Linked DNA regions of Homo sapiens: all the other regions are linked to region 3. The links are contacts of gene promoters, found by promoter capture Hi-C in human tissues and cell types (Jung and others, 2019). All regions are on one chromosome and are shown on one strand. The core of a region is centred on a gene start or on the middle of the fragment in contact, and the rest is flanking DNA. Distances in the headings are between cores, read along the strand shown. Region 1 holds the start of APOBEC3B-AS1 (APOBEC3B antisense RNA 1). Region 2 has its middle 8.2 kb from the start of APOBEC3B. Region 3 holds the start of DNAL4 (dynein axonemal light chain 4). Region 4 holds the start of APOBEC3C (apolipoprotein B mRNA editing enzyme catalytic subunit 3C). Region 5 holds the start of APOBEC3F (apolipoprotein B mRNA editing enzyme catalytic subunit 3F). Region 6 holds the start of DMC1 (DNA meiotic recombinase 1). Region 7 has its middle 16 kb from the start of APOBEC3A.

Evidence for each region. The method cuts DNA at HindIII sites, captures the fragments that hold promoters and counts their contacts. A contact is called where the count stands out against the background at its distance.
Region 1: a contact is called between a fragment that was not itself captured here and the fragment with the promoter of DNAL4 in region 3, in 4 of the 25 tissues and cell types used here (IMR-90 fibroblasts, heart left ventricle, lymphoblastoid cells and 1 more).
Region 2: a fragment that was not itself captured here is called in contact with the fragment with the promoter of DNAL4 in region 3 in 3 of the 25 tissues and cell types used here (lymphoblastoid cells, small bowel and spleen).
Region 4: a contact is called between the fragment with the promoter of APOBEC3C here and the fragment with the promoter of DNAL4 in region 3, in 2 of the 25 tissues and cell types used here (mesenchymal stem cells and spleen).
Region 5: the fragment with the promoter of APOBEC3F here is called in contact with the fragment with the promoter of DNAL4 in region 3 in 4 of the 25 tissues and cell types used here (IMR-90 fibroblasts, aorta, mesenchymal stem cells and 1 more).
Region 6: a contact is called between the fragment with the promoter of DMC1 here and the fragment with the promoter of DNAL4 in region 3, in 1 of the 25 tissues and cell types used here (bladder).
Region 7: a contact is called between a fragment that was not itself captured here and the fragment with the promoter of DNAL4 in region 3, in 2 of the 25 tissues and cell types used here (lymphoblastoid cells and thymus).

The regions. Positions count from the first base shown.
Region 1 is chr22:38,996,233-38,999,849 of GRCh38, forward strand. It overlaps APOBEC3B-AS1 (APOBEC3B antisense RNA 1), which reads right to left and starts at 1,988. Exons shown (of 5, transcript NR_104187.1): 1 at 1,854-1,988; 2 at 1,249-1,505. RefSeq lists an enhancer at 1,853-2,493. The HindIII fragment of the contact is 5,994 bases long and covers 1-3,617 here.
Region 2 is chr22:38,972,257-38,975,974 of GRCh38, forward strand. No RefSeq gene overlaps it. Among named protein-coding and RNA genes, the nearest start is that of APOBEC3B, 8.2 kb to the right of the region's middle. RefSeq lists an enhancer at 1,918-2,695. The HindIII fragment of the contact is 5,438 bases long and covers 1-3,718 here.
Region 3 is chr22:38,792,042-38,795,764 of GRCh38, forward strand. It overlaps DNAL4 (dynein axonemal light chain 4), which reads right to left and starts at 2,102. Exons shown (of 4, transcript NM_005740.3): 1 at 2,027-2,102. RefSeq lists a silencer at 1,844-2,293. The HindIII fragment of the contact is 13,707 bases long and covers 1-3,723 here.
Region 4 is chr22:39,012,910-39,016,662 of GRCh38, forward strand. It overlaps APOBEC3C (apolipoprotein B mRNA editing enzyme catalytic subunit 3C), which reads left to right and starts at 1,348. Exons shown (of 4, transcript NM_014508.3): 1 at 1,348-1,470; 2 at 2,686-2,842. The coding sequence starts at 1,454. RefSeq lists enhancers at 560-1,178, 1,155-1,449, 1,179-1,796, 1,369-1,478 and a silencer at 1,589-1,638. The HindIII fragment of the contact is 14,453 bases long and covers 1-3,753 here.
Region 5 is chr22:39,039,238-39,042,630 of GRCh38, forward strand. APOBEC3F (apolipoprotein B mRNA editing enzyme catalytic subunit 3F) reads left to right here and starts at 1,627. Exons shown (of 7, transcript NM_145298.6): 1 at 1,627-1,740. The coding sequence starts at 1,724. RefSeq lists enhancers at 1,437-1,496, 2,549-3,326. The HindIII fragment of the contact is 19,854 bases long and covers 1-3,393 here.
Region 6 is chr22:38,568,519-38,571,824 of GRCh38, forward strand. It overlaps DMC1 (DNA meiotic recombinase 1), which reads right to left and starts at 1,665. Exons shown (of 14, transcript NM_007068.4): 1 at 1,525-1,665. LOC105373031 (a long non-coding RNA gene) reads left to right here and starts at 1,982. Exons shown (of 2, transcript NR_134627.1): 1 at 1,982-2,076; 2 at 2,235-2,840. RefSeq lists a silencer at 1,661-1,950 and enhancers at 2,254-2,764, 2,351-2,400. The HindIII fragment of the contact is 22,042 bases long and covers 1-3,306 here.
Region 7 is chr22:38,940,026-38,943,296 of GRCh38, forward strand. No RefSeq gene overlaps it. Among named protein-coding and RNA genes, the nearest start is that of APOBEC3A, 16 kb to the right of the region's middle. The HindIII fragment of the contact is 9,821 bases long and covers 1-3,271 here.

The sequences.
Region 1 (3,617 bases), core at 581-3,080, 200 kb after region 3:
AGCCCTGGGCTCGCCGGAGTTACCCAGTCAGACGATGCCATTTCTGCTCCCTCCTGAAAGAGGAAGTGTCCAGGATGAGAACTTCAGGCAAAGAGGTGCCTGTGGATGGGCAGTGGGAGAAGACTTGGAGACAGAGCATCTGTGGCTAAGGACAGGGAGATTTGGGGTGGTCATCACAAAGAGGAGGGCCTGAGGGAGGGAAGGCACCGTTCCTGGGGCTGAGAAGTGACCCCATCCCTGACTCTACACAAGGAAAAATGAGATGTGGCCTCGTGGACTAGGCTGGATTCGGGGCAGAAGGTCCTGGAGACCACCAGCAAAGAAAGCAAAAAGCTTTCCAGGCTCATCCCAGGTGGTCGGGGCCTCAGAGATGAACAAGTGCCTGCCAGGGCTGCAGGGCACCCGTCTGTGTCTTCCTTTCATCTCCCCTCTGACCTCTGGATGCCAGATGTCTCCAAAGGACTTCAACTTTTTTTTGTTTGTTTGTTTTTGTTTTTTGAGAGAGTCTCACTCTGTCACCCCCGCTGGAGTGCAATGGCACCATCTCAGCTCACTGCAACCTCTGCCTCCCGAGTTCGAGCGATTCTCCTGCCTCAGCCTCCTGAGTAGCTGGGATTACAGGTACGAACCACCATGCCCGGCTAATTTTTGTATTTTAGTAGATGGGGTTTCACCGTGTTGGCCAGGCAGGTCTCGAACTCCTGGCCTCAGGTGATCTGCCCGCCTCAGCCTCCCAAAGTGCTGGGATTACAAGTGTGAGCCACCGCGCCTGACCTGGACTTCAACTTTAACTATGAAAACCTACAGCTGGCCAAAGGGCGAGGGGAGACTTGCCTATCCTACCATGTAGAGTGATCAGATGGTGACACCCTGTCCTGCTGGACACCAGTGTCCTTCACAACCAGGTGTTAGCTGGGGATGGACACAGGAATCCCAGATTGGTAGGGAAAGGGGAGCCCCCCACAAGACCAGCTTTCTTCCTCCCATCAGGCTCAGACCAAACACATTGCACAACGCAGTTGCATGGAAGCCACAAAGATGGAAACCCAGGGCCTGGGGCCCTCTGGGAGGGACCTACACACGATCATAGCCCCCCCGACAATGCCTCGTGTGCCCAACACCAGCCCACCAGGTAGCTAGAGCCATTCCCTCTGGTCACTGGAGCAGAGCAGCCACCACAGCCTCCTGCAACACACCCTCCCATGCTGCGCCCACCCGCCTGGGCTCTCCCACCTCCCTTTGACCTACCTTGTTCCTGGGCACAGCCCCCTGTCCTGGCTGCAGATCTCAGGGTAACAGACCTCCACACAGCTGCTGATGCAGAAGTCCAGGCTGCAGTGCCCACAAGTGGATAGAGGAGGGGGTACGTGGGATGGAGGGGCTCACTATGGGTCCTCGTTGATTTCCCTACACTGTGATCTCCTGGAGGGAGGACCATGTGCCATCCATCCTTGCATCCCAGGTTCCTGCCTGAGCCGTGGCCCTGAGTGGGTGCTCTTGGGTTACTGTTGAAGGAATGAAGGAACTAGTATATGAATGAACCAGTTGTCCTTCCTTGCCTCCCCCCTTCCCTCCCTCCCTCCCTCCCTTCCTTCCCTCCCTTCATTGACCCTTCCTTCCCTCCCTCTCTCCCTCCCTCCTTCCCTTCCTTCCTTTCTTCCTTCCTTCCCTCCCTCCCTTCATTGACCCTTCCTTCCTTCCCTCCCTCCCTTCATTGACTCTTCCTTCCTTCCCTCCCTCTCTCCCTCCCACCTTCCCTCCCTCCCTCCCTCCTTCCTTCCTTCCCTCCCTATCTCCCTCCCTCCCTCCCTTCCTTCCTTCACCCTTCCCTCCTTCCCTCCCTATCAGGGGACCTGGTCCGATAATCATGTAGGTTCTTTTCTATTTTCTTAAGTGTCGGCTGGCTTGAGAAATAAAGGGACAGAGTACAAAAGAGAGAAATTTTAAAGCTGGGCTTCCGGGGGAGACATCACATGTTGGTAGGATCCGTGATGCCTCACAAGCCGCAAAAACCAGCAAGTTTTTATTAGGGATTTTCAAAAGGGGAGGGAGTGTGTGAATAGGTGTGGGTCACAGACATCAAGTACTTAACAGGGTAATAGAATATCACAAGGCAAGTGGAGGCAGGGCGAGATCACAGGACCTCAGGACTGAGGCAAAATTAAAATTGCTAATGAAGTTTCGGGCACCATTGTCATTGATAACATCTTATCAGGAGACAGGGTTTTAAGAGCAACCCGTCTGACCAAAATTTAGTAGGCGGGAATTTCCTCTTCCTAATAAGCCTGGGAGCGCTATGGGAGACTGGAGTCTATCTCACCTCTGTAATCTCGACCATAAGAGACAGGTACGCCCTGGGGGGGCCAGTTCAGAGACCTACCCCTAGGTGCGCATTCTCTTTCTCAGGGATGTTCCTTGCTGAGAAAAAGAATTCAGCGATATTTCTCCCATTTGCTTTTGAAAGAAGAGAAATATGGCTCTGTTCTGCCCGGCTCACCGGTGGTCAGAGTTTAAGGTTATCTCTCTTATTCCCTGAACAATTGCTGTTATCCTGTTCTTTTTTCAGGGTGCCCACATTTCATATTGCTCAAACACACATGCTGTACAATTTGTGCAGTTAATGCAATTATTACAGGGTCCTGAGGCGAAATACATCCTCCTCGGCTGACAGGATTAAGAGATTAAAGTAAAGACAGGCATAGGAAATCACAAGGGTATTGATTGGGGAAGTGATAAGTGTCCATGAAATCTTTACAATTTATGTTTAGAGATTGCAGTAAAGACAGGCATAAGAAATTACAAAAGTATTAATTTGGGGAACTAATAAATGTCCATAAAATCTTCACAATCCACGTTCTTCTGTCATGGCTTCAGCTGGTCCCTCCATTTGGGGTCCCTGACTTCCCACAACACCTCCCTCCCTTCCTTGACCCTTCCTTCCCTCCTTCCCTCCCTCCCTCCCTTCCTTTCTTCCTCCCTTCTTCCCTCCCTCCCTGCCTCCTTCCCTCCCTCCCTCCCTCCCTCCCTCCCTCCCTCTCAGGAGAGAGCAGCACACTGGAATGGCTGAGCTTGAGGACCCCCCATCTGGCTTGCACAGTCACCCAAACCACCACCCCTCCCCTTCCCTCCTCTTCTGCCTTGAGGAATCTGACTGTCTGGAAACTTGTTTCTCCTTCTCCATGAACATTCTAAAGCCACTGGCCATGCACTGGTGCTACCAGGTCACCTGGAGCATCTCCTGGAGCCCTTGTCCTTAATGTGCCCAGACAGTGAACAGCTTCCTGGCTGAGCATGTCAACGTCAACGAGAAGGCTTGAAGCCTGACCCCTCCACTGCCAACAGCCAGAAATTGCAGGAAATGAGGACCCTGCACCGGGCTGGTCAGCTGTCATGTGGGATGTCAGGGGGAGGCTTTGGGCTGAAGGGTGGTTGGGAGCCGGTGGGGAGAGTCCTTGGCTAGGACTGTAGGTGACACCAAGGACAAGACTCAGGACGTGGAAGACTCAGGACGTCCACATGGAAAGGATGCCAGGGCCAAGGCCGAGAGGTGCTGGGGAGGGCTCCCCACCTGCCCCACACACCATGGCCTCAGCCCCTGTGACGGAAGCTGACTATCT
Region 2 (3,718 bases), core at 145-2,644, 180 kb after region 3:
GGCTCGGTGGCTCAGGCCTGTAATCTCAGCACTTTGGGAGGGTGAGGCAGGTGGATTATCTGAGGTCAGGAGTTCAAGACCAGCCTGGCCAACATAGTGAAACCCTGTCTCTACTAAAAAATACAAAAATTACCTGGGTGTGGTGGCGGGTGTCTATAATCCTAGCTACTCGGAAGGCTGAGGCAGGAGAATCGCTTGAACCCGGGAGGTGGAGGTTGCAGTGAGCCGAGATTGCGCCATTGCACTCCAGCTTGGGCAACATGAGAGAAACTCCATCTCAAAAAAAAAAAAAAAAAAAAAGGGAATCGCTAGATGGGGCTGAATATCCAGGGGGCCTTCATCACATGCCTGGAGGCTTGGGCAGGCTGTCAGCTGGGGTGTTTCCTCTCTCCACCTGGTCTCGCAGCATTTAGGACTACAAGTCTGTTTTCCTTGCATGTAGGTGAGCAAGTCCTAGATATGCAAAAAATGAAACCTACAAGGCTACTCAAAGCCCAGCCAAGGAAATCACATGACATCATTTCTACTGCATTTTATTGGCCAATGCAAGTCACAGACCAGCCCAGATGGAAGGGGACAAAAAAATAGACTGCATCCCTTGATGAGAAGAGTGTCAAAATCTCATGGCAAAGGGTTGTAAAAACAGACCGGAGGAAGCGTGAGGCGTACACTGCACCCCCACCACACCAGCCCAAGCCCTTAGAGAAAAATGATGAAAAATCCACCTTTGGCCAGCCACGGTGGCTCATACCTGTAATCCCAGCACTTTGGGAGGCTGAGGCAGGCAGATGGCTTGATTCCAGGAGTTTGAGACCAGCCTGGACAACATGGTGAGACCACCTCTACAAAAAATACAAAAAAATTAGCCAGGTGTGGTGGCGTGAGCCTGTAGTCTCAGTTATGTGGGAAGCTGAGGAGAGAAGATGCCTTGAGCTCCGGAGGTTGAGGCTGCAGTGAGCGGTGATCGTGCCACTGCACTCCAGCTTGGGCAACAGAGTGAGATTTTGTCTCAAAAAAAAAAAAAGTCGACATTTGTTAGAGTCACCCAAGCAAGGGAAGATCAGACGAATAAGGTCTCAAGTGAACATTTTCTACGTGAGCATATCCAACCCGGGGCCTCTGCAGGGCCTGTTTTCTCTAGGAGCAAGGACTATTAGCAGGCAGGGGATGGGCCTGGGGGGCCTGGGAAAGGGAGAACAGGTGGAGGCTCCATACAGGGGGACGCTGGGGCCAAGCTCAAGGTAGGGCACACCCCTCCATATCGAAGTAGGTCATCAAGAGTCATGCAGACGGGACAAGGCAAGGAGTTCCGGTGCAAGCTCGCTAGGACCCTCAGTAACACCAGAATAGAACCTGGACCCAGGATCCAGGGCAGAGAGAACCTTTTTACCAAAGCCTGCTGTCACCACCCAGGCTGCTTTGCCTTGACAGTCCCACTCCTCAACTGTAGGAAGGTGAGAAAAATTCAACTTCTCAAGTGTGCTGTTCAGGTCACACCCTCTAGAGGGCGAGCATGCAGCAGAGGCATGCGGCATAAACCTTTGTCCCTTTCCTCGGCAGGGTCCCGTGAAAGTCAGGTTGCAGGACCCCCAGGCCACACTGGAGGAGACCCTGAAGCTCCACTTTGTCACCCAGGAGTCCGTGCCTTGCAGAGCCTGGGCCAGGTGCTGAGAAACACAGGGATGGGGCTGGGCTGCACCTGCCCTTGCTTGTTTTTTTTGTTTTTTGTTTTTTGGTTTTTGGTTTGGTTTGGTTTTTTTGAGACAGAGTCTTGCTCTGCCACTCAGACTAGAGTGCAGTGGCACCAACTCAGCTCACTGCAACCTCTACCTCCCGGGTTCAAATGATTCTCTTGTCTCATCCTCCTGAGTAGCTGGGATTACAGGTGCACGCCACCACACCCAGCTAATTTTTTATATTTTTGGTAGAGATGGGGTTTCACCTTGTTGGCCAGGCTGGTCTCAAACTTCTGACCTTAAGTGATCTGCCCACCTTGGCCTCCCAAAGTGCTGGGATTACAAGTGTGAGCCGCCGCGCCCGGCCTGCCCTTGCTTTTTGGGTTTTGTCTTTGCCACCCAGAGTGGCGTCACCTGGATAACATGCCCTAAGACTGCAGGGATGTAGGTGAGTCTGTCCCAGTCCAGGAAACCAAGGCTAGTATCAGATTGGCTTTCATGGCTTCTGGGCAGAGCCCAGATCTGCACCTCACGTGTCCCGGAGTCAGGGAAGGGTGATACTGGCTTCCCCAGTTCTGCCCTCTGGACGGGCGCTCCGTTGACAGAGACCCTGAAGAGCATCATGCCAGGTGTGGCCTCAAATAGTAAAGATAAGAGAAACAGAACTCGAGGAGGAGAAATATAGAGGCCAGGCCAAGGCCGTGCACAGCCCCCTACAGCATCTGGCACTGTGGTCGCTTCTTTACTCTGCCTCCCTCCTCTGGAGCTCCCGTGAATGTGAGCGTCCTCCTCCTGGCTGGACGGCATCTCCTCTCTCTGGGCCTTCTGCCCTGGCCCCATCCTCCCTCGGACTGGGTGCCGAGTCTCAATGTTGGTCACTTATGACCCCAAATCGCCTTCTCCAGCTGGACACCCCCAGTCTCCTGGGCTGGACTCTGCAGTCACCTTTAGTGCTCCCAGCTCCCCTGTTCCTAAGCCCTGCTGTTTCTACCTTTGGGAGGACACGCAGGCTGTCAGCCCATGTTTGCCGAGTGCTACGGTGCTTGAGTGTGCATAGCCCTAAACAGGGAGCTGGCACTGGGTGTTATGACTCCCCTTGCTGTAAACTTTAAGGACTCAAACAGAAGCAGAAAAAAGTGAAAATAAGCAACATCTACTGAGTACTGACCACCCACCAGGCTCCGTTCCTTATGCCTGAAGGGGAGCGGCTCATTTAAACCTTACACCTGAATGGGAGCGCTCATTGAACCCTTGCGCCCAACCCCACAGTGAGGAGCCATCATTTTCACCTTCCCTGTTCAGATGAGGAAATGGACTATTGCAGTTAGAGGTTGCAAAGCCAAGCTGGGGTTGACCCAGCCAGGTAGGTCTCTACCCAGGTGCTCAAACGCAGCTGGGGCAATTGAAACAAGTCTTGAAATCAGTTACAGAGATTCTTTCTTTTTTGTATTTTACCATTTACCTAACTTTACATGCAACTTCCTTAGTTCAGATACAATGTTTCATTAAAAAAAAAAAAATCTGGGCTGGACATGGTGGCTCACGCCTGTAATCCCAGCTCTTTGGGAGGCTAAGGCAGGCAGATCACTTGAGATCAGGAATTCGAGACCAGCCTGGCCAACATGGTGAAACCCTGTCTCTACTAAAAAAAATACAAAAATTAGTCAAGCATGGTGGCACATGCCTATAATCCCAGCTACTCTAGAGGCTGAGGCAGCAGAATGGCTTCAACCCAGGAGGCAGAGTTTGCAGTGAGCCGAGATCACACCACTGCACTCCAGCCTGGGAGACAGAGTGAGACTCTGTCTAAAAAAAAAAAAAAAAAAGTCTGCTCTTCTTTAGAGCAAGGGTCCCCAACCCCCGGGCCTCGGATGGGTACAGGTACATGGCCTGTTAGGATCCCAGCTGCACAGCAGGAGATGAGCCGTGGGTGAGTGAGCATTACCGCCCGAGCTCTGCCTCCTCTTACATCAGTGGCAGTGTTAGATTCTCACAAGGGCGAGAACCCTATTGTGAACTGCTGTGAACTGCACATGCGAGGG
Region 3 (3,723 bases), core at 852-3,351:
TACGTAAATTTAGGCTGCACTAAATTTATAGAAAATATTTTTCTTTCTTCCATAATAAGTTAACCTTAGCTTACTGTAACTTTTTACTTTGTAAAAGTTTTGATTTTGTTAACTTTTTGACTCTTTCGTAGTAACACTTAGCTTAAAACACAAACACATTGTACAGCTATACAAAAATATTTTCTTTCTTTATATCTTTATTCTATAAGCTTTTTTCTACTTATAAATTTTCTATTTCTTTTTTACTTTTTTTTTTTTGAGACAAAGTTTTACTCTTGTTGCCCAGGCTTGAGCGCAATGGCGCTATCTCGGCGCACTGAAACCTCCACCTCCCGGGTTCACGCCATTCTCCTGTCTCAGCCTCCTGAGTAGCTGGGATTACAGGTGCCCGCTACCACGTCTGGCTAATTTTTTGTATTTTTAGTAGGGACAGGTTTTACCATGTTGGCCAGGCTAGTCTCAAACTCTTGACCTCAGGTGATCTGCCTGTGTCGGCCTCCCGAAGTGCTGGGATTAATAGGCGTGAGCCACCGCTCCTGGCCTTTATTTTTTATTTTTAACATTTTTAACTTTTTTGTTAAAACTCAGACACAGATACACTAGCCTAAGCCTACACAGGGTCAGGATGCTTAGTGTCACTATCTTCCACTACCACATCTTGTCCCGCTGGACGGTCTTCAGGGCAATAACACGCATGGAGCTGTCATCTCCTATGATAACAAAGCCTTTTGCTTGAATACCTCCTGAAGGACCTATCTAAGACTGTTTACGGTTAAATTTTATTTTCTTATAAGTAGGAGGAGTGTACACTGTAAAATAACAATAAAAGTGTAGGATAGTAAACACATAAACAAGTAACAGTCATTTATTACCATTATCAAGTATGATGTCCTGTACACAATTGTATGTGCTATATTTTATATGACTGGCAGCACTGTAGGTTTGCTTACACCAGCATCACCACACACGTGAGTCATGCATTTTGCTTTGACATTACGATAGCTATGTAACTAGGTGATAGAAATTTGTCAGCTCCATTATAACCTTAGGGCACCACCGTGGTATCTGTGGTCTTTCTTGACCAAAACGTTGTTATATGGTACATGACTGTATTTCAATCTCCATCTGTCCCCTCCCCACCCCTAAGTAACCCTAACCATGGAAGCCCAGGAGGAAGATCAGAGAGGGTCAACTGGAGAAATGACAGTTCATGCTGACCGGGTTGATAACATTTCCCAGAGAGGGAAAATGTGGTGAAGAGACAAAGGAAAGAAACTAACAAATACTGAATCTATACTGGACTGGACTCTGTACTTCATATTAGCCTCAGAATTACCAAAGGAGATGCACCGACGTATACTGATTTTACATATGCACTGATTAAAAGCGCAGGGAGGGTAGGTCTTGAGACTGGGAATCCAAATTAGGTTTGCCAAGTTATTTTCACAATACACGATACCTCCCATTGGGGAGCACATCCTCTCGGAAGCCTAAAGTTGGGTCAAAGAACAACGACATCCTAGAACGTCAGAGTGGAAGAGGCCTTAGAGATCACTCAACTCAACTTCTCATTTACAGATGGGGAAACTGAGGCCCAAACAGGGGAAATGACCAGCCCAGAATCCCAGTAAGTCGCCAACTCTCCAAGCCAAGAGCGGTCTGACCTAGTTGATGGCGACCCCGCGGGAGAGGGAATTACTCCGCGAAAGGTCGAGGGATCAAGGTGCTGGGGGAAGTCGGCTAAAGGGGGACGCGGGACCACGAAGCTGGGCAGGCCTTGGGTGGGTGGGGAAGAGCAGCCGGCAGAGTCGCGATGGCAAACCTGTCACGACAGAGCTCGCAGGTCCCGAAGTGGGGGTGAGGGTGGGGGTTGAGGATGGGAAGACCTGGGGCAGGGGAACAGCAGGCAGGAGACCGAGGTGGGGCCTCGGCGGCGGGCGAGGCCTCTTCCGCCCTGCGTTGCCTCCCGCCCTCCCTCCGGGCCGGCCCTCCCCGCCTGGCTGCCCGCCGCGCCCCGGGGCCTCACCTGCTCCTGCGGGGGCCGGAGCCGGGGCCGCAGCCAGCGAACCCCCGCCAGGGTTGTCAAGGAGCGAAACAAGAGTGTCTTAGCAACCAGCAAGGAAGTCCTGCCCCCTCACCGGACGTTGACGAGAATTTCACTTATTATTGGTGGATAAAAGTATCAATCAGAGTGAAAGGCCCTTATAAGTCAGGCGTTTGCAAGGACAGGGGCGTGGTTTAGAGGCCAGGGAGGCGGGACTTCACTTATAGTTGTCTTAAGCGTGCCCGAGGAGCAGGGGACACATTGAAGTTCTTTTTCTAGGGAAACAAACTTCGAAAAGCAGTACTGCCTTGGGAGGTTCTTTTAGTCACTTGAAATAACAAATGCAACTTGTTGGTGTCGTGACACTTAGCCACTACTTTATTGGGATCTGAAAAGCCTGATAATAACTAGCATTTTTGTAGGGCTGTACAATTAATATCTCACTTGATTCTCATTACAGTACTTTTAGGTGATAATATTCGTCATCCCATCTGAACTAAAGTTCAGAGAGGTTAAGTAACTTGGTAAAGGATGGAGGTAATCTCCCTGGAGAAGGAACCCAGGGGCTCCTTCCTCTGTGCCACACCCTTGTATGGTCACCTAGCTCTAGTCACTAGGAGACATTTGTACCACCTAATTTCAGACACAGTTGCCCAGAGCCTGCCTTTTCTTCCCCTTGGGAGGGAAAATTAATCCGAAAGTACGGAGAAGGAAAAGGGGAAAGGGGAAGAACTGGCGGATTCTATTATTTGATTGGTAGATCAAAGGGTCAGTTGGGTACTTCGTAGTTTAAACCTTTATTATTGTGATGAGTACTTGGGGTGAAACCCCACTGCCACATTTACTAGCATTGAAGCTGTCTTTGCCAAAATTATAACTGAGGAAATTATGACAGTGAAAGAGATCAGACCTAACCCACTCCATCTTGCCTTTCTAGCCTTTAAGCTGTCTTTGTTCATTCCTAGGCATAGGCTGAACGAACCTTGGGAAGGAATTTAGTTTATAGTTTTACTCTGAAACAAAATTGACAATAGCCCTTTCCCAAAAAGGCTCCCTTCCTGCCTTGGGACCAGTCTGCCTTTGTAGGACTAACAAATTAGCTACAACATTAGAAATTATGGTTTAGGGGTCACACAGCAGCCTCTGGCTGCAAGAGTCTGAACCTTCCCAAATTGCTCCTGGGGATAACATCACTATTGTAAAACCTAAGATCAGCGCTTGAGATATTTTGCAGACCCTGCGCTCGATGGATCAGCTGACACCACCCAGACCAGTAATGTGGCTCAAACAGTTCTGTGATCCCACCCAGGAACAGAAGACAGCAAGAAAACCTCACTTCGACCCCCTCAGTATTCCATCTTCGACTTAATCAATCAACACTCCTCGCTTGCCAAGCCCCTACCCACAAAATTATCTTTAAAACCTCTGATCCCTGAATGCTTGGGTAGCATATTCAACTGCCTCCTAGCCATGTGCACCAGAATGTTCCACAAGCCCTTCAAACTCAGTGTGTCCCAAACTGAATTGATCATCTCCCTCCAATCTGCTCTTCCTGCATTCCCCATTCCAGTAAATGGCACCACCCCCGACCCAGTTGCCTCCATCAGAAAACAGGGGGGAGTCCTTCACCCTTCCCACTACAACAGCCCACTTCCAGTCACAAGCATGCCAATTTCGAC
Region 4 (3,753 bases), core at 98-2,597, 220 kb after region 3:
CTGTTATTTATTGCATACAAGACAAGGGGGGCAGGGTAAGGAGGGTGAGTCGTCCAAGTGATTGATAAGGTCGAGCAAGTCACGTGATCATAGGACAGGGGGCCCTTCCCTTATAGGTAGCCGAAGCAGAGAGGGAAGGCAGTATACGTCAGCGTTTTCTTCTATGCACCTATCAGAAAGATCAAAGACTTTAAGACTTTCACTATTTCTTCTACCGCTATCTTCTGAGAACTTCAAAGAGGGACCAGGAGTACAGGAGGAAAGTGGACAAGGAGCGTGACCATTGAAGCACAGCATCACAGGGAGGGGTTTAGGCCTCCGGATGGCTGCAGGCAGGCCTGGATACTATCCAGCCTCCCACAAGAAGCTGGTGGAGCTGAGCGTTCCCTGACTCCTCCAAGAAAAGGGAGACTCCCTTTCGTGGTCCGCTAAGTAACGATGCCTTCCTAGGCACTGGCGTTACCGCCTGACCAAGGAGCCCTCCAGTAGCCCTTATGCGGGTGTGACAGAGGGCTCACCTCTTGCATTCTCGGTCACTTCTCACAACAGCCCTTCAGCACCTGACCCTATACCCACCGGTTATTTCTTGGTTATATTAGTAATACAATAAAGAGTAATATTAAAAGCTAATGATTAATAATATCTACACTAATGATTGATAATGTCCATGATCATCTCTGTATCTAATTTGTATTATAACTATTCTTATTGTAAGTATATTCTTTATTATACTGAAACAGTTTGTGCCTTCAGTCTCTTGCCTCAGCACCTAGGTAATCCTCCGCCCACATCTCTGAGGGGCTGAACTGCCCCCCACCTTCTGGAAGCTGGGAGGTTGGAAGAGGGGATGCGTGCGATGGACTCAGCACACAGCTGGGAACTCGAGGCACACCTAAGCCTTCGCTTGTGCTGTGCGGAGTCCACACTTCCTTCCCCACTGGGGTCTCAAAACCTCCCCTCACTCAACAGGGTGGTGCTGCTCAAAGCTCTGGGCACACATTAGGGCTGGGGAGGGGGTGGTGGAGAGGGGGCTCCAGCCTGCCCAACCACCAGGCAACGGGGCACCTGCCCCTCTCTCAGCTGGGTCTGGACCCGCGTCCCAGGCTCAGGCTGCAATGCCTTTCTCTTTCTCTTTCTCTTCTTTTTGCAGTTCCGTTGGGTCCTGCCCAGGACAGATAAAGACAGAGCAGCCTGTCTTTATCGGAGGTTCCTCTGCCAGTAGGAGGGGCCCGGAGAAAACCAGAAAGAGGGCCAGAGCCAGAGAAACATGAAGCACCCCGGGGCCTCCCACACCAGTGCCTGAGCAGGAATGGGGAGGGGCCATGATTCACAAGGCCCTGGGAGGTCACTTTAAAGAGGGCTGCTCAACTGCAAGGACGCTGTAAGCAGGAAGAGAAGCCACAGCGCTTCAGAAAAGAGTGGGACAGGGACAAGCATATCTAAGAGGCTGAACATGAATCCACAGATCAGGTACCTCTGCACGCTTTGTCCGCCAGGCCCCTCCTGCCACTTCCTGCCAGGCGGTCCTGCTGGGCCTCAGCCCTGGCCTCCCCCTGCCCCAGCCCCACCTCTGGGCTCCCTCCCCCCTGGTTCCCCCGCTGCCCCCACTCCCAGCCAAGCTCCTTGCCCTGCTGTGTGGTCCCACGACTGCTGCTTCTGAATGGGCCACCTTCCCCACTTGCCCCAGCCCAGTCCGCCTGCTGAGACTCTCCCCCGAAAATCATGCCCGGGCTGGTGCTTCCCGCCCTGGGAGGGTGCTTCCTCTGTGTGCTTCCCACTATTCCTGGGAGCTCTGGAACTGGGAGAATTGAACCAAAGGATGATTTGAGCAATCAGGCATTTTGTTCTCAGCGCTTTGGTGCAATTTCTGTAAGATTTACTTTGTTTCAATACAAAGTCTTAGGAGAGGGTGTGGGGGAGGGAATGGTCTCTGTACCAGAAAATAAGTCACTTCTTCCAAAGATGCCTCCACTGTGAGCAGAGTAGGATGCACACGACCCCAGACACAGGCTCCTCCTCTGTGAGCACCGTTCACCTTTCAGAATGACACCTGCAACATGGAGTGTAGGAAAAAATATGATGATCAGGAGAAATGCTCTTATTTTAGGCCAGGCACGGTGGCTTATGCCTGTAATCCTAGCACTTTGGGAGGCTGAGGCGGGCGGGTCACTTGTGGTCAGGAGTTTGAGACCAGCCTGACTAACATGGTGAAACCTCGTCTCTACTGAAAATACAGAAAATTAGCCAGGGGTGCTGGCGGGCGTCTGTAATCCCAGCTACTTGGGAGGCTGAGGCAGGAGAATCCCTTGAACCCGAGGGGTGGAGGTTGCAGTGAGCTGAGATTGCAAACTCCAGCCTGGGGGACAGAGCGAGATGCCGTCTTTAAAAAAAAAAAAAAAAAAGTAGCAGAAAAACTGGGAGGTTGAGGGTGTTCCATTGGTAGCCCCAGAGCTGGGGTTCCAGCTAGGAGAGGTCACCCCGGCCCTGCTGCCCCTGCCAGCGTCCCCTCCTCTTTCTCTCTCCCCGTCTTCCTGCCTGGGAAAGCAGCAGACATTCTCAGGGCTGTGGAGGGATGGGGGAGGCCCAGAGCCCAGGGACGTCCAGGCAGCTGTGTTCAGTGGGCATCAGCCCTGAGGACTCCGGTGCGGGGGTCTCTGCATTGGGGTTTCTCTCTTGTGCCTTCAGAAACCCGATGAAGGCAATGTATCCAGGCACATTCTACTTCCAATTTAAAAACCTATGGGAAGCCAACGATCGGAACGAAACTTGGCTGTGCTTCACCGTGGAAGGTATAAAGCGCCGCTCAGTTGTCTCCTGGAAGACGGGCGTCTTCCGAAACCAGGTAGCACCAAAGTCCTAGTTACACCCTAAATAGGAGCTAAGCAGCTGGGAATGCAGAAAACGCAACAATAAGTGATGTGCCCGGCGTGGGCTCTCCTGTGTGCACTTTCCTGCCACATTTCTATTTTTTTTTTTTTTTTTTTGAGATGGAGTCTCGCTCTGTCACCCAGGCTGGAATGCAGTGGTCTGATTTCAGCTCACGGCAACCTCTGCTTTCCAGGTTCACGCGATTCTCCTGCCTCAGTCTCCCGAGTAGCTGGGATTACAGGCACCTGCCACCATGCCCAGCCAATTCTTTTGTATTTTTAGTAGAAACAGGATTTTGCCATGTTGGCCAGGCTGGTTTCGAACTCCTGACCTCAAGTGATCCACCAGCCTTGGCCTCCCAAAGTGCTAGGATTACATGCGTGAGACACCATGCCCCTGGCCTCCTCCCCACATTATTTATTTATTTATTTATTTATTTTGAGACGGAGTCTTGCTCTATCGCCCAGGCTGGAGTGCAGTGGCACAATCTCAGCTCACTGCAAGCTCCGCCTCCCGGGTTCACGCCATTCTCCTGCCTCAGCCTCCCAAGTAGCTGGGACTACAGGCGCCCACCACCATGCCCAGCTAATTTTTTCTTTTTTTCTTTTTTTTTTTTTTTTTAGTAGAGACGGGGTTTCATGGTGTTAGCCAAGATGGTCTCGATCTCCTGACCTCATGATCCGCCCGCCTTGGCCTCCCAAAGTGCTGGGATTACAGGCATGAGCCACTGTGCCCGGCCTCCCCACATTTTTTAAGTCCATGGCCCAGATCTTCCTCCCTGACTCTCCTGTGATCAGATCGTGGAGGGGGTTTGCTTCCTCCCAAAAGGCCTTGTTTAGCGCCCAGCACCCTCACTCTTGACTTTGTTTCCCAAAATCTTGTTAT
Region 5 (3,393 bases), core at 377-2,876, 250 kb after region 3:
ACTTCTTTTGTGTTTTTTTGGCTGCTCCAGACTTCTTGGCTGCTGCAGGCCATCTGGATGTATATGTGCAGTTCACAGGGGTCACAATGGCTTAGCTCCGGCTCAGAGGCCTGACACTGACCTCAGATGATCCACCTGCCTCGGCCTCCCAAAATGCTGGGATTACAGGCGTGAGCCACTGTGCCTGCCTGGGATCATATGTTACACGCATGTTTGTTCAATAAGCATGGAGTGCAGCCACCCACATGAATATTCATAGCTCCTCCTATAGCCTGTTGAATATGTATGTTTAGCCAACCCCTTCAGCATAAAGCTCCTGCCCCAACCCCTCCTGCTTCTAAATGTCTGTCTCTGGTGTTTCCCAGAGGCTGCTCTTCCCAGGCTGCGGGATGGCTACCTTGCTGCCTGTCACCCTTAACAAGAAATAAAATCTCCTTTCCAAATTTATACATTGTGGCCAGGCGCGGTGGCTCACACCTGTAATCCCGGCACTTTGGTACGCCAAGGCGGGCGGATCTCCTCAGATCGGGAGTTCGAGATCAGCTGACCAACATGGAGAAACCCTGTCTCTACTAAAAATACAAAAATTAGCCAGGCATAGTGGTGGGCGGCTGTAAGCCTGACCAACATGGAGAAACACTGTCTCTACTAAGAATACAAAAATTAGCCTAGGCGTAGGGGTGGGTGCCTGTAATCGCAGTTACATGGGAGGCTGAGGCAGGAGAATCTTTTGAACCTGGGAGGCAAAGGTTGCGGTGAGCTGAGATTACGCCACTGTACTCCAGCCTGGGTAACAGAGCAAGTCTCCGTCTCAAAACAAACAAACAAACAAAAAAACACAAAAAAACAAAAGCAAACAAAAAAACCAAATGCATCCCTTGTGTAATTTTTAGGTCACCGCGCCATGGGAACACGCTACCAGGGGAAGGGAGCTGTGAGACGCGCAGGGAGGCTCCAGACAGGCTGGCCTGGGACACCAGCCACTGCTCTTCCATGACATGGGGACAAGAGGAGGCGAGAGCTCAGCCCACCAGGGAGGAACTCCGGGCAGGAGATGGGGAAGAAGGAGAAGCAGGAAGGAAAGAGCTCAGTGTGGGGGCGCGCATGGCATCCCGGTGGGACATCTGAGGCCCACACCCACCTGCTGTCCCTCCCTCCCACGGTGGCCTCCGAGGGTGAAGGCCTGGGGAGAGGCAGACACCTGGCCCTTTACTCTCCCTCCCTGTCCCCATGGCCGCTGGGTGGGGGCCGTCTCTGGGATGATCCCCGAGGGCAGGATCCGGGAGTCCCTGCGGAGGCATCAGCCTGTCTGTCTTGATGGTGGAGAGGAGGCTCCAGCTGGGCGGGACCACCAGGGGAGGGGCTTGTGCTCTGCTGGCTCAGCCTGGTGTGGACCCACCTCGCGGGCGCTGGCTGCAATGACTTTCTCTTTCCCTTTGCAATTGCCTTGGGTCCTGCCGCACAGAGCGGCCTGTCTTTATCAGAGGTCCCTCTGCCAGGGGGAGGGCCCCAGAGAAAACCAGAAAGAGGGTGAGAGACTGAGGAAGATAAAGCGTCCCAGGGCCTCCTACACCAGCGCCTGAGCAGGAAGGGGGAGGGGCCATGACTACGAGGCCCTGGGAGGTCACTTTAGGGAGGGCTGTCCTGAAACCTGGAGCCTGGAGCAGAAAGTGAAACCCTGGTGCTCCAGACAAAGATCTTAGTCGGGACTAGCCGGCCAAGGATGAAGCCTCACTTCAGGTACCGCTGCCCGCTCTACCCGCTGGGCCCCTCTGCTGCCCCTTCCTGCCTGGTGGCTCTGCTGGGCGTCAGCCCTGGCCTCCCCCTGCCCCAGCCCCAGCCCTGGGCTCCCTCCCCTCTGGCTCCCCTGCCCCCGCCACTCCCAGCCAGGCTCTTTTTCCTGCTCTGTGGTTGCCCCACTGCTGCTTCTGAATAGGCCGCTTCCCCACCTGCCCCAGCCCAGGTGCCCTGCTGAGACTCTCCCCCGCCACCGAAAGTCATGGCAGGGCTGGTGCTCCCGGCCCTGGGAGGGTGCTCCCTCTGTGTTCTTTCCGCCATTCCTGAACTCTGGAACTGGGAGAATTGAACCAAAGGATGATTAGAGCAATGTGGAATTTTGTTCACAGTGCTTTGATGGATTTTCTGTAACATTTACTTTGCTTAAATAGCAAGTCTTAGGAGAGGGTGTGGGGAGGGAATGGTCTCTGAAGCACAAGATAAATCGTATCTTCCAAGGATGTCTCCACTGTGGGCAGAGGAGGATGCAGATGACCCCAAACACACGCTCCTCCTCCACTATCAGCATTCACTGTTTATAAATGACACGAGTAACATGGAATATAGTGGCCGGGTGCGGTGGCTCACACCTGTCATCCCAGCACTTTGGTAGGCTGAGGTGGGTGGATTGCCTGAGGTCGGGAGTTCGAGACCATCCTGATCAACATGGATAAACCCTGTCTCTACTAAAAATACAAAATTAGCCGGGTGTGGTGGCGGGCGCCTATAATCCAGCTACTCCACAGGCTGAGACAGGAGAATCGCTTGAACCCAGGAGGCGGAGGTTGCAGTGAGCCGAGATCGCCCCATCGCACTCCAGCCTGGGCAACAAGAGCCAAATTTCGTCTCAAAAGAAAAAAAAACAAAAACAAAAAACATGGAATATATGGGAAAAAAACTCAATGATCAGGAGAAATGCTATTATTTTAAAATTTAGTAAGAAGAGAGTCTGGTCCCCAATGGCTCCCTCCTGCAAGGCTGGTGACACAGAGACTGGACAGGGCTGGTCTGGTAAGAGGCCCCAGCCCCATCCGTCCCCAGCTCTGTGGCCTGGGCAGGTTACCCCATCTCTCTGCGCCTCTGGCACCTCCTCTGTAAGATGGGAATGGCCCGTGCGGGCCTAGGGCAGCCTCACATGAGCTCACATCCGCGCAGCACTTAGAAGAGTGGCCTGGGCCTCAGAATTCGGTTCTACCATGATTTAACAATAGTAATATACAGAGGTGAAATGTCAGAAGGAACTGGCTGAAAGGTTAAAATCTATTATTTTGGGGTGAATAGTTTTATTCTCTCTCTCTTTTTTTTTTTTTTTTTTGAGATGGAGTTTCGCTCTTGTAGCCCAGGCTGGAGTGCAGTGGCACGATCTCGGCTCACTACAACCTCCGCCTCCCAGGTTCAAGCGATTCTCCTGCCTCAGCCTCCACAGTGGCTGGGATTACAGGCACCCACTACCACGCTTGGCTAATTTTTATATTTTTAGTAGAGACTGGGTTTCACCATGTTGGTGAGACTGGTCTCAAACTCCTGACCTCAAGTGATGGGCCTACCTCGGCCTCCCAAAGTGCTGGGATTACAGGCATGAGCCATAATGTCCAGCCAAGAACTTTGTTCTCTTTT
Region 6 (3,306 bases), core at 415-2,914, 220 kb before region 3:
AATTGGGGGGTGCTTATTTAGTTTCTTCTCTTTCCCCAACAGTGATCACTTATCATCTGGTTTCCATTGCACAGCTAATCATGACTTTATTACTGCCTTGAATGTTATTTAGAATTGCATATTGCTTTTAACCTTTCTTGTTTATGTTTAACAACAATACTCTAGGAACCTTGACATTATATCATTCTTCCTTGTGTCCTCCCTGACACCTCCAACTTTGTCCTCAATAAATGGATTCTATTTTTCTCATCTATGATGAATGCCTTCCTGCCTGCTGATTATGAATGGGTACTCCTGTAACATCCACCTTTTTGTTTCATAGAACATTAGCTATACTTTCTTTCACAGTATTTACTAGTTTCATGATTTTTTTAAGATTTAAAAATATGGTGGTCCGGGTGTGGAGGCTCATGCCTGTAATCCCAGCACTTTGGGAGGCCGAGACAGGCAGATCACGAGGTCAGGAGTTCGAGACCAGCCTGGCCAATCCCCGTCTCTACTAAAAATACAAAAAAATTAGCCGGGCGTGGTGGTGGGCGCCCGTAATCCCACCTACTTGGGAGGCTGAGGCAGGAGAATCGCTTGAACCTGGGAGGCGGAGGTTGCACTGAGCCGAGATCATGCCACTGCACTCCAGCCTGGGCGACAGTGCGAGACTCAGTCTCAAAAAAAAAAAAAAAAATTGGTGGATCATAATATTATATTAAGGCTGATAAGCAGTTAAAGTTTTTAACATTGTAGACTCAAAAAGAAATCTCAGGAATCCACAAGGCGTGATTGTGTTTATTTATTACAATAAAATGCGGTCCAAATCATCATTTTTCTTGGTCGATTCCATTTCCTCATTTGATACCAAAGTCAGGGGTTGGACCCTAGAACAAAGGGAACGAACCATTAATACTAAGGCAGGAGCAGGGTCCTACCACCCAGCACCTCAAACGGCAAAGGATGGAAGGCAACCGAGACCGTTCGGATGGGATCTTCGGGGACACTGTCCTTCAGATGGCTAGCTATGAGTACCCCAATTCCACATTTACTGTCCCCATCGAAGAGAAAAACAGCATTCATTTCTTCTCCCCGTGATGAAATGAAAAGATTGTCCCCCATCTCTCAAGGAGCCGTTGATAGACTGAACCGTTGGATTGAAAGTAGGGCTCCCCAATCCCCCGGTTTAAGACGACCCAGCTGTCCCCTCTGGTGGGGGCAGCAGCGCGGTCGGGTCGCCCTCGACGCCTCCCTCAGCAGGAGGCCTGGGCAGACCCCCTGCGGCCGCCGGACATTTTCCTGACACCGGATTCCCTGGTCAGGAGGATGAGGCGGGCTCTCCTAGACTCAGGTCCGATTCGATTGAAAATGAGGTTGGAAATCCCTCAAGATCACTAAAATTCCTCCCCAAAGGTCGGAGCGGAACGCTCAAAGTCACTAGCCCAGGGACCCCAAAAAAGGAGCGAGAAAGGGAAGCGCGCCTTCTCAAAACGAGCGTCCCCTCAGAGTCTTCGCACGCTGTTCGTTTTTGCCACTTACCCCCCTCGTACCCACAGTCTCCCCGAGATTTTCAAGGTGAAGCCCCTCTGCCCCGCCCGACCTCCTCAGCTGACAGGATTCTAACTCGGGCCTAGAACACGGAGCCTGGAGACCCGCGCGCCGTTGACCACAGGGTTTGGCGCCAAACGAGGAGGGCGGGGCGAGGACCAAGGGGCCGGGGCGGGGCGCAGGGTGAGGGTGGAAGGGCGGGGAGGGAGCAGGCCTACAGAGGGCGACGAGGGGCGGGGAGCAATGGGGGCGGGGCGAAGACCGAAGGGCGGGGAACGAGCGGGCTCACAGGTGGGGGGACCAGAGGGCGTGGCCTGGAGGGGGCTCAGGGCGAGGGGGCGGGGCGAGGGCTGAGGCGCGGAAAACGAAGAGGAGCCCCAGCGGGTGGCGAGCTGGGATGACGGAGGGAGGGAGGGAGGGGCGCTGTGGAAGGAGCGCGCTGAGGAGCGGGGCCTTGAAGGGAGACCGTTGAGCTGGGGCGTCCCTCGAGCTGAGCACCTCGCTAAAGTCCGGGAGAAGACCCTGAGGCGGGGTTCTGAGGAGGTAGCCTTGAGTCGGGGGAGGGGCGATGAGCAGAGGTGGCTGACTTTGGCGATAGGTCTTGGTCGCGAGGGTTGCAGATGGAGCCTTGGCTTAGAAGGTCGAATCCGGGCCCGTTTCCCCCCGCCCCCGCTGCCCATGGCTTCTCTTTTCACCTCCAGGTTTTCATGCTGGCTTCAGAGTTTGGCCGTGCTCCCTCAGCGTTCCTAATTTCCCACTTTCTGACTCTCACCATTTGCCACTCTTGTCTGTGATTGAGACACCCGAGGCCCATTCAGGATGGAGAGTAATTTTTTCTCTGTCTTAACTTGAAGTTTTAAATAGACCACAGACGCCAAGTATATTTTGGTTCAGCTTTTAAATAGAAGTCGCAGGCCAGCCTTCGTGCCAGCAGCGCCATCGCTGGCAGCATCCTCCTCCTCCCCTCACGCGGAGACTGACTTGGGGAGAGTCAGGAAACATTTGAGAGAGCAGCTGCCGAGGTGGAGGCTGTGATGTATCTTGGATGAATCTCTGTGCAAACAGTTCTTTGGGTTCAAGACCTAGTACAGGGCGATCCTTTTTGTTTTTTCTGTCTGAATCATTTTGGTGGAATAAATAGCAAAACATTCCCACAATAGCAGTTGGCATTTTGTGTAGGACGCACCCCCCCAACAGGTGGATTGTTTTAAGAGCCAACAAATAACTGCCATTGTGCTTCCAAATCTGTTATTTTCCCCCAAACACAGTCGTCCTTGTTATATGGAGATGAATGCCCATTTGGGGGAGGAACTGGATAGTGGTGAAAGGCTTTCGCTCTGAGGCCTCACCTAAATAATTATGGGAACTTTTGAGCAACTCGTTAGGTGAAGACATCAACAGTCTACAGAAGAGCTGCAAAGAGCACAGCAAGATGATTTAGGGAAATATAACATATGTAGTTTGGTGTAGTGACAGCTGGGAGAGAGAAATGTTCATAATATTTGAAGGTTGTGTGCAGTACACTTAAAAAAACTAAAATGAGCTGGGTAATGACAAATTCATGAAGGGAGGAGAAAAATCTTATCTGGGTATCATATCGATGGTTAGAGACAACTTTTAAGATATTTAAAACAACAACAAACTCTAGGACAGTTAAAAAGTGCACATGAAGACTTTCCACTAAAATCGGAACCAAAAAAATTGTCTTTCGTATCATACAAAAACTCTGAATATCATGAAGGTGGCATTTCACATCAGTGGAGAAATGATGAA
Region 7 (3,271 bases), core at 2-2,501, 150 kb after region 3:
TATGTCCGTTAGTAAAACTGTTCCCTTCTTTCAAAATACAGGCTTTGAAACTTTGTTTTCTTTCAAAAATGTTTGTATTGGAGTATAACTTAGAGTTAATTGCAAAAGCTTAGGTTTGCAGTTGATGTAACCACCGGCCAGATGGGGTGGAGGCTTTCTCCAGAATCTCAGGTGGCTCATGCATGTCATTCGATTTGTTCCCCCTCCACTGGAAACTGGTGTTCTGACTTCTATTATCATAGATTAATTTTGCCTGTTTTTGAACTTCATAGAAATTACACAGTATGAATTCTTTTATGTGTGACTTCTTTTGTTCAATATTACTTTTGTGGGGTTCACTGATGCTTTATATGCCAGGAGTTCATTCATTTTTATTGCTGTGTAGTATTCCATTGATGGAGAGAGTACAATATATTTACCATGTATAACATATTCACAATATATTTTAATATATATTTTAAATTATAATATATTAAAATTACATTGTATATAATTTATATATTAAAATAATTTTATATATTATAATATATTTTAATATATGCCATTGTTGCTGGACAGACCGAGTTATTTCGAGTTTTTGGCTGTCATGAATAAAGCGAAATGAACGTTCTTTTTTTTTTTTTTTTTGAGAGTCTCGTTCTGTTGCCCAGGCTGGAGTGCAGTGGCACCATCTCTGCTCATTGCAACCTCCACCTCCTGGGTTCAAGGGATTCTCCTGACTCAGCCTCCCGAGTAGCTGGAATTACAGGTGCATGCCAACACGCCTGGCTAATTTTTGTACTTCTTTTTAGCAGAGATGGAGTTTTGCCATGTTGGCCAGGCTGGTCTCAAACTCCTGACCTCTGGTGATCTGCCTCCCTCAGCATTCCAAAGCGCTGGGATTACAGGCGTGAGCCACCGCGCCCAGACTGTGAACGTTCTTATGCAGCCTTTTGGTGGACATAGCATCTATTTCAGTTGGATATTATAATACCTAGGAGTGGCATTGCTAAGTCATGGAGTAGATGCTTGTTTCGCTTTAGTAGCTGCAACTAAACATTCTATGCTGCCCCTTTTATGCTACCATCAGCAATGTAAAAGAGTTCCATCCTTGACAATATTTGATGTTGTCAGTCTTTTGGATTTTAGCCATCCTGGTGGGGAGGGGCTAGTGGTATCTCACTGTGGTTTTACTTTACATTTCTCTGATGATTAATGAGGTTGACCACATTTTCATGGGTTCACAGGCCATTTTGATATCCACTTTTGTAAGCTGCTCCTTCAAGATTTTGGCCCATTTTATAATGGGCTCTTTTTCTTACTGATTTTCTGGAGCTCCTTATATATTTGGGAGATAAACTCTTTGTTAGGTAGATATAGTGCAGACATCTTTTCCGAGTCTATGATAGGCCTTTTCACTCCCTTACTCCCTTAATGGTGCTTTCTGATGAAAGTCTGTGCTTTTCTTACTAATTCCTGGTTATAGTATCGTTTTATTTCACATTGTGGATGAGGTTAAAAGTTGTTGATATAACACACACTAGTTAAGACAACATCCTGGAGAAGGGAACACGGCGCAGAGGATTTTCTCCTCTAGGCTGCTTCCGGTTTTCGGAGTCAGTCATACTGACCCTCTGGTTTTAGTTCCTTGGGTGGTTTCCTCGGGGAACCACTATTTCTTGATTTACTAGCTCTTGATGGTATCTACTGCCTTCCCTCCGCGAATATGAGAGTTTCGCTCTTATAATTCTCCAGAACTTCCCCTCCCCTCCTCTCCCCTCCTCATGTAGTTGCATCAGTGCCCTCAGGTCCCCCGTGGGCAAACGCCCACAGCTTCAAGTGCTTGCTGAAACTCAACAAGAAGCAGAATCACTTGACTCAACCTTGTGAATCAGCCGCTGACACTTCCCTCACTCCTCTTCCAGCCTCCCTCCTCATTCCATCTTGACCTCTTTCACTTTCGCCTTCACATTATTAAGGTTGAGAATGTTTATATTAATTTTGTGAACATATCTCAGCCTCCCATGTCCTGTCTATAGATTGAATCTAAATGTTGAAAACCCAGTCTTTGGGGTTTACATCACCGTACTTATAGGAACGTGCATCTCACCAACCTCGGTCATGATGACTTACCTCTCCCGAATCTTCCTGTCTTAATGCCGTTCCAAAAAACATCTTCTTCATGTGGCAGCCAAATGGTTCCACCTTTTTGATTTTCCACCGATGATGCTTACAATCGTGCCATGATCTTGTTGGCCTCCTCCTTGGACCATGGCTGTAGAGTGTGGAAAGGTGTTAACTCTTCAACCTTTTCTGTCTGTCCAGTGTAGAAAAGGGTTAACCTTTCCACTCTGTGAGCCGCCCCCCATGTTTCCTTTTTTTTGAGATGGAGTCTCACTTTTGTCACCCAGGCTGGAGTGCAGTGCCACGATCTCAGCTCACTACAACCTTCGCCTCCTGGGTTCAAGTGATTCTCCTGCCTCAGCCTCCCAAGTAGCTGGGATTACAGGTGCCTGCCACCACACCTGGCTAATTTTTGTATTTTTAGTAGAGACGGGCTTTTGCCATGTTGGCCAGGCTGGTCTTGAACTCTTGACCTCAGGTGATCCACCTGCCTTGGCCTCCCAAAGTGCTGGGATTACAGGTGTGAGCCAGCGCACCCAGCTTCCCCCACGTTTCTAGGTAGCCATGGTTAGTTTCTTTTGCTTGCAACCAAAGATCTCTAATAGGTAAAGAAGGTGATCCAAGATTCCAGGAAACAGGAAACAGAAGGAACGTGCTGTGGGGAGATGAAACAGAAGCTCCGGGTGAGACCAGGGCAGCACTGACCACTCCACAGCACCTGGCTGTGTAGCTGCTCTGGGTTGGACTCGCCTGCCCAGCATCCCTTCCTCTGCTGCCTTTGGGGAACCGCCTCTCCTTTGATTGTCATCTTGATTGATTTGTGGACAAGACAACCCAGGCCCCTGCCCTCTCCAGGACTAGGGCCAGTTCAGAACCCAAACCCAATCTGACTCCCCTGGAGCTCTGACTCTGAACAAAATAAGACAAAACCAGAAAACACGGTCAGAGCAATGTGGATCCCAGTGGTTGAGACCTCCAGGGCTGTGCATGGGTTCCTGCTCCTGGACCCTGCACTGTCACTCGTTCTTGTGCTTCCTGAGCCCAGATTCTGTAATTTACCCTTCAACCCCGTGAGCTCTGTTACGTTTCTCGTTAGCTATGGTCCACTTCTTTTGCTTGAAACCGAAGATCCCTAATGGATAGAGAAGGTGATACAAGATTCCAGGAA